Regions from separate parts of the Homo sapiens genome. Here region 1 is linked to region 2. Evidence: promoter capture Hi-C in 16 types of primary human blood cells and fetal thymus (Javierre and others, 2016). All regions are on one chromosome and are shown on one strand. The core of a region is centred on a gene start or on the middle of the fragment in contact, and the rest is flanking DNA. Distances in the headings are between cores, read along the strand shown.

Region 1 (3,456 bases), core at 523-3,022, 110 kb before region 2:
CTGGGCGCAGTAGCTCATGCCTGTAATCCCAGCACTTTGGGAGGCTGAGGCAGGCAGATCATGAGGTCAGGAGATCGAGTCCATCCTGGCTAACATGGTGAAACCCCGTCTCTACTAAAAATACAGAAAGCCGGGCATGGCAGCGGGCGCCTGTAATCCCAGCTACTCGGAAAGCTGAGGCAGGAGAATCGCTTGAACCCAGGAGTCAGAGGTTGCAGTGAGCAGAGATCACGCCACTGCACTCCAACCTGGGCGACAGAGCGAGACTCCACCTCAAAACAAAATAAACAAAATACTAGATCTGGAAGAGATCTTAGGGATTATTAAATTCAGACAACCTCATTTTTTATAGATGGGGAAACAAGCACAGACTCCAAGGGTCTCATCCAAGATCACACAGTTGCAGATGCTGGCTACAAGTCTCCTGCCTCAACCACCTGTATTACCCCATTCAGGGTCTCAAGAAGGGTCTATAAGACACTATCCATTGTGTTTCGGGCTGAGTCCATAGAGACAACCACAGACATGGGGGACTCTGCCCACAGGGAAGGCAAGGGCTCTGGCCATGGAGCTGGATGGGAAGACTCTGAAGCCCGAAGACATTGAATCCTGTGCAGGGAAAGAGCGAGGGTTTTGTGTACAACACACCTGCATACCTGGATGTGAATCTCAGCTCCACCCCTTCACCAACTCTGTGTGGCCTGGGCAAGCCATTCTAAGGGAACCCTCCACACTGCAACTTTCATGTCTATAAAATGGGAATAACCATGCATTCCTTACAGGACTTTTTTGGTGTGAGGATTAAATGAGAGAATATGTTGAAAAGTGCTTGGTAAATATATTAATACTATGCATTCCCTCTTCTTTGAATGACGTGACCCAGGTAGTCAGGCTTCTGACCACTAGAGGGCAGCAGAAGGTACTGGAAAACTGGGCCGAGTGAACCAGAGATTAGATGGGGTCCAGAGAGCAGGGATGAACTTACCCGTGTGGATTCTGGCAACTCCGGCAGGGAGGGCTCCAGCAGGCGCTGAGGGAAGAACTTTCAAGCAGAGCCGGGTCTCTTCAGGAGCGACTGCAGCAACCCTGATGCTTGGATGGAGTCCAGGCAGGTGATGGTAGTGAAGACCTTGCCAACAGAGTGGGCGCTGGAGAAGGAGCCCTTTAGTGGGGACCCTGGGGCCACGACTAGGCTGGCAGGCCCAGCCAGCACCAATTAATCCATGAGTATTGCCCAGCATTGAGCCTGGAGCACCTTCCAGCCCCTGGCCAGAGTCCTGGGTGTTCTGGGAAAAACCCCTAAACCTAGTAACTCCTCTCCCTACTAGGCCTCTTTGTTGCTGAATCTCTGGAATTTAGGGGCCAGCAGCTTTCTGACTCAGGTCAGCCAGGGGTTCATGTTCCCTCACTTGCCCTCCCCCTGCCTGGCCCATCTCTGGCCTGGCCCCTGGGAGGAATTTCCTGGGCCAGAGGGCAGCCGAAAGCACAGATGCCCACCCCAGCAACGTTCCCGCCACCTGCCCAGGCCAGTGCCCCGTGCCCAACCCCAGAGGGTGCGGGATGACAGACTCTGACAATCATTAAACCAGCCGGGCCTGATTTCCCAGCACTGCCTGCTAAGATCCGGGCCAAGTGGCACTGAATATGCAAATCACCTGGGGCCAGGAGCCCAGTCTAAAGGCCAGGAAATCCCCTCCATCCAATGAGACACCAGCTCAGGTTACTGCAGGGGACACACTATAAAGCCCTGAGCTCAGGGAGGAGCTCCCTCCAGGCTCTATTTAGAGCCGGGTAGGGGAGCGCAGCGGCCAGATACCTCAGCGCTACCTGGCGGAACTGGATTTCTCTCCCGCCTGCCGGCCTGCCTGCCACAGCCGGACTCCGCCACTCCGGTAGGATTCCCCGCCTGTCATTCCCTAGCCCAGCTCTTGGGAAACTGCAGAGGGGTCCAGAGGATTTGCAGTTCTGAACCTGCACACTCCAGTCTAGGATCTCCGAGCAAGAGCGTAGGTGTCCTGAGGGTCAAAGAACAGAGAGAGATTGTCTCTGGGAAGGCAGAATGGCCATGACGCCGCTAGTCTGGCTCCAGGGCCCCAGAGATCTGAGGAGGGAAGCCCAGCTGGAGGCTCCTGTGGTCCTGCCCTGGTCTGAGATCTTGGAGCCCTTCTTGAAGAGACGGTGTCCGCAGAGTTGCTGATCTTCCTGCCCCTGGGGGCTACTCTTGCCCAGGGTTGGGCAAAGCAGAGTAGCTGGGAGTGTAAGGAGAGGACCCTCGTCCCCTCACCAACCTCATCCTCTCTCCCCCTACCCACAGGTAGCCTCATGGCTGCAACCTGTGAGATTAGCAACATTTTTAGCAACTACTTCAGTGCGATGTACAGCTCGGAGGACTCCACCCTGGCCTCTGTTCCCCCTGCTGCCACCTTTGGGGCCGATGACTTGGTACTGACCCTGAGCAACCCCCAGATGTCATTGGAGGGTACAGGTGGGTCTCAGCGGGGTGGGATGGGGCACGGAGTGGGAGACAGATCCATCTAAGGGCCTGTTAGACAAATGGGGGAATAGGCAGGGAGGAGGGTCTCTAGGCAAATTCCAGGGCTAGAGGCTGAGACTTAGTGACTGAGGTGCTGGGGGTTGTGGGGCTGTGACAGGCAGAGGGAGGTGTCAGATACCAGGACAAGGGTGTTGTGAATGCTACCTCCTGCCCCTACTCTTGGGATGGCTCCAAGGGCTGAGGTGTGAATCCCCAGTGTGCTCCAGGAATGGGGCTGTGTGGGCTGGGAGTGGTGGCTCACGCCTGTAATCCCAGCACTTTGGGAGGCTGAGCTGAGCGGATCACCTGAGGTCAAGAGTTCGAGACCAGCCTAGCCAACATGGTGAAACCCCGTCTCTACTAAAAATACAAAAAAAAATTTATCCCAGCGTGGTGGTGGGCACCTATAATCCCAGCTACTGGGGAGGCTGACGCAGGAGTATCGCTTGAACCTGGGAGGTGGAGGTTGCTGTGAGCCGAGATTGTGCCATTGCACCCCAGCCTAGGTGACAGGAGTGAGACTCCATCTCAAAAAAAAAAAAAAAAATGGGGCTGTAAGGTCTGCTGGGTGGCCTGAGCTGAGCCTGTTTCCCTGCCTGGCCCTTGCAGAGAAGGCCAGCTGGTTGGGGGAACAGCCCCAGTTCTGGTCGAAGACGCAGGTTCTGGACTGGATCAGCTACCAAGTGGAGAAGAACAAGTACGACGCAAGCGCCATTGACTTCTCACGATGTGACATGGATGGCGCCACCCTCTGCAATTGTGCCCTTGAGGAGCTGCGTCTGGTCTTTGGGCCTCTGGGGGACCAACTCCATGCCCAGCTGCGAGACCTCAGTGAGTCCAGGCCCCTGGAGGCTGGGGAGCAGCTCCACATGTTGAGCTGAGTCGAGTTCAGTGTGGCCGTAGGCAGGCCCTGGAGCTCTGGG
Region 2 (3,238 bases), core at 208-2,707:
CTGTTCCAGATTGCTAGGACCCCAGCTGCCCATCAGGGACCCCTCTAAAATAACTTAGTTGAGTCATTGTTTGCCTACTTAACAACCTGTGATATTCTCCATTGCTTATGGGATAAAATCTAAACTCCTTGGCTTGGCATACAAAGTCCTTTACAGTCCAGTTCCTCCTCTGCTGATATTTCCAAGCTCTTTGTCCCAAGTGCCCATGCTCTCTCCCCACCTCCCTTGCACTCTAGTCCCCTCGACAGACTTGCTCTCTTGCGGGAACATCACCCACTTCCACATCACCCAGCCTTTGTGTGTGCTGTGTCTTCTGCCTAGAGCACCCTCCCTTCCCGTAGTCTGTCAGGCAAGCTCACAGCCATTTCTCGGGATCCATTCAAATGTCACCTCGCTTGGGAGGCCTTCCAGATCCCCCCCAGATTTTCTTGGGTTCCCTCAGCATCATGACCTTTGCCTTTCATAGCATCTATCATGCTGAACTTACACATTTACTTCCTTCTCTGGACTGAAAGCTCATTGGTGGCAGAGATCCTTTACATTTTTGTATTCTGAGTGTCTGGAACACAACACGTAGTCAGTAAAGACGTGTTATTGCAAATGTCCACACATCTTGTGTCTGGCTCAGAATATGGTGTTTTAGGCCGGGTGCGGTGGCTCCCAGCACTTTGGGAGGCTGAGGCAGGCGGATCACCTGAGGTTAGGAGTTTGAGACCAGCCTGGTCAACACGGTGAAACCCTGTCTCTACTAAAAATACAAAAATTAGCCGGGTATGGTGGCGGGCACTACAGTAACTGTAATCCCAGTTACTCAGGGGGCTGAGGCAGGAGAATCACTTGAACCCAGGAGGCGGAGGCTGCAGTGAGCCAAGACCGCGCCATTGCACTCCAGCCTGGGCAACCGAAAAAAAAAAAAAAATTAGAAATCTCTGGAGTCAGATCTGGGTTGTGGGCCTTGCTCTGCCTTGTATCAACTATGTGGCAAGTGACTGACCTCTACAAACCTCAGATTTGTGATCTGAGATTAATCAAGGGTTAATTGAGAAACCAGCTGAGTGCTAGCACCTAGTAAGTGTTCAGTAAGTGACAGTGATGGTTATTGCTGAGTTTTGAATGGAGGAGCTGCCTTAGAATCAGGAGACCTGCGCCCCAGTTCCCATTCTGCCCCACCTCCCTGTGTCACCCTAGGCAGGCCACATTTCCTCCCTAGTTTCAGGGGCCTGAAGCAGATGCCCTCTTAGGGCCCCACAGCCTGACATGCTGTAGGGCCTGAGAAGCGGCGTCGTGGAGGACGAGATGTGTGAGGGCAGCAAAGAGTGCTATGTGTCCAGCAGAGGGCCCTGCCCGGCCTGTGGCCGGAGGCTGGGAGGGAGGGCAGGCGAGTGATGCCAGACGCCTGACTGGAGGCGGATCCAGCCGGCCAGCTGCCTCTCTGGAGCCCAGCTCTTGGGCCCCCTGCACTCACCTGCTCTTCCTGGGCTGGCTGTCTCCTGCTCATCCAGCCATGCGGTGGCTGTGGCCCCTGGCTGTCTCTCTTGCTGTGATTTTGGCTGTGGGGCTAAGCAGGGTCTCTGGGGGTGCCCCCCTGCACCTGGGCAGGCACAGAGCCGAGACCCAGGAGCAGCAGAGCCGATCCAAGAGGGGCACCGAGGATGAGGAGGCCAAGGGCGTGCAGCAGTATGTGCCTGAGGAGTGGGCGGAGTACCCCCGGCCCATTCACCCTGCTGGCCTGCAGCCAACCAAGCCCTTGGTGGCCACCAGCCCTAACCCCGGCAAGGATGGGGGCACCCCAGACAGTGGGCAGGAACTGAGGGGCAATCTGACAGGAGCACCAGGGCAGAGGCTACAGATCCAGAACCCCCTGTATCCGGTGACCGAGAGCTCCTACAGTGCCTATGCCATCATGCTTCTGGCGCTGGTGGTGTTTGCGGTGGGCATTGTGGGCAACCTGTCGGTCATGTGCATCGTGTGGCACAGCTACTACCTGAAGAGTGCCTGGAACTCCATCCTTGCCAGCCTGGCCCTCTGGGATTTTCTGGTCCTCTTTTTCTGCCTCCCTATTGTCATCTTCAACGAGATCACCAAGCAGAGGCTACTGGGTGACGTTTCTTGTCGTGCCGTGCCCTTCATGGAGGTGAGTGTGTGTTCTGTTTGAGCTCTGCTGGGAGGCTGCAATCCAGGGAAGGGACTCAAAGTCTCCATCAGGTCTTTGGAAATGGAATTTGTGGGTGTGCAAAACCTGAGTCTTGGAGCTCTGACTTGCTCCTCCTTTACCTTGGAGAAGGAGACAAATACGGTATTGGTTTCTGGTTGCTCTCAAGAGAAGTAGGCAGGCCAGGGGGACAGGCGGGTGTGTGGGGCCCCTGGGTTCCAGCCCCAGCCTGATCTTCTGCTTCGGGAGCAACCTCAAGGCAGGCCTTTGCCACTTTCTCCAGACCCTAAGCTGCCCTCTCCCTTCCTCAGCCCTTCTCCCCTGTCCCACCCAAGATACCTCTGTCCTTTGTTGTGACTCCTCTTCTTTCCTCTGTACCCCCTGCCGCTGCCCTGCTCCCACAGCTTCCTTCGCTGCTCCTCCGTCTCCTGCCTCCTGAAGGAGTGCCTGAAGGGAGAGCCCAATTTCCTTCACACCCCTCTGGATCAAGTCAGCATCCACTCCATGAGAATACAAGCACCAGAAGCAAAAGACCGCTCCGTTCTTCCCTCCCTGCTGGGATTCTCATTGTTATCGTTGTCATTTCCATCAGCAACTTCCTAGATCCTCTCTGAAAGGGATACCTGGTTCTGGGCACTGGAACTAATGGGGGGCTCTAGTCTTAGCTCTGCCACTGACATACTGGGCGTCACTGGGCAGGTTGCATTACCTCTCCAATTTCTTTATCTCCCAACCAGGGCGGGTAGACCAGATGGTCCTTCCAGCTGGCCTGTTTCACAGTTCTAAAGTATACCACTATGCCCTTACTTCTGGTAGCGTCTACGATAAGTCCATGGGTGTCAAAGGATATGTAGAGCATAGAGAGACAACTTAAAACACTGCAGAAACATACTGATGTGTGCATTTATGCAAGACACAGCAAGGCCACCCTCTCTCTCTCTGTAAGACAAAATAAGCAAACAGTCTTTCAAATTTTGGCTGCATGGAGTGTAATGGAGTGACTGTGGTCTCCCTGTGAAGCTGCTGTTCCTTCGTGAATGATGCTGCATGACAAGGGGGACTTGCCTGGCCGGAGAAGGGCTCAGG

Evidence for each region. Contacts are between HindIII fragments. The CHiCAGO score rates a contact against its expected background, and 5 or more counts as called.
Region 1: a contact is called between the fragment with the promoter of ELF3 here and the fragment with the promoter of GPR37L1 in region 2, in 6 of 17 cell types (erythroblasts, endothelial precursors, M0 macrophages and 3 more). The highest score is 10.2, in erythroblasts.

Annotation. Positions count from the first base shown.
Region 1 is chr1:202,008,815-202,012,270 of GRCh38, forward strand. It overlaps ELF3 (E74 like ETS transcription factor 3), which reads left to right and starts at 1,773. Exons shown (of 9, transcript NM_004433.5): 1 at 1,773-1,892; 2 at 2,315-2,485; 3 at 3,143-3,364. The coding sequence starts at 2,323. ELF3-AS1 (ELF3 antisense RNA 1) reads right to left here and starts at 1,539. Exons shown (of 2, transcript NR_146472.1): 1 at 986-1,539. RefSeq lists enhancers at 1-12, 1,739-2,672, 2,673-3,456. The HindIII fragment of the contact is 11,380 bases long and covers 1-3,456 here.
Region 2 is chr1:202,121,460-202,124,697 of GRCh38, forward strand. It overlaps GPR37L1 (G protein-coupled receptor 37 like 1), which reads left to right and starts at 1,458. Exons shown (of 2, transcript NM_004767.5): 1 at 1,458-2,134. The coding sequence starts at 1,505. LOC105371683 (a long non-coding RNA gene) reads right to left here. Exons shown (of 3, transcript XR_922422.3): 2 at 2,492-2,599; 3 at 2,128-2,274. The HindIII fragment of the contact is 24,323 bases long and covers 1-3,238 here.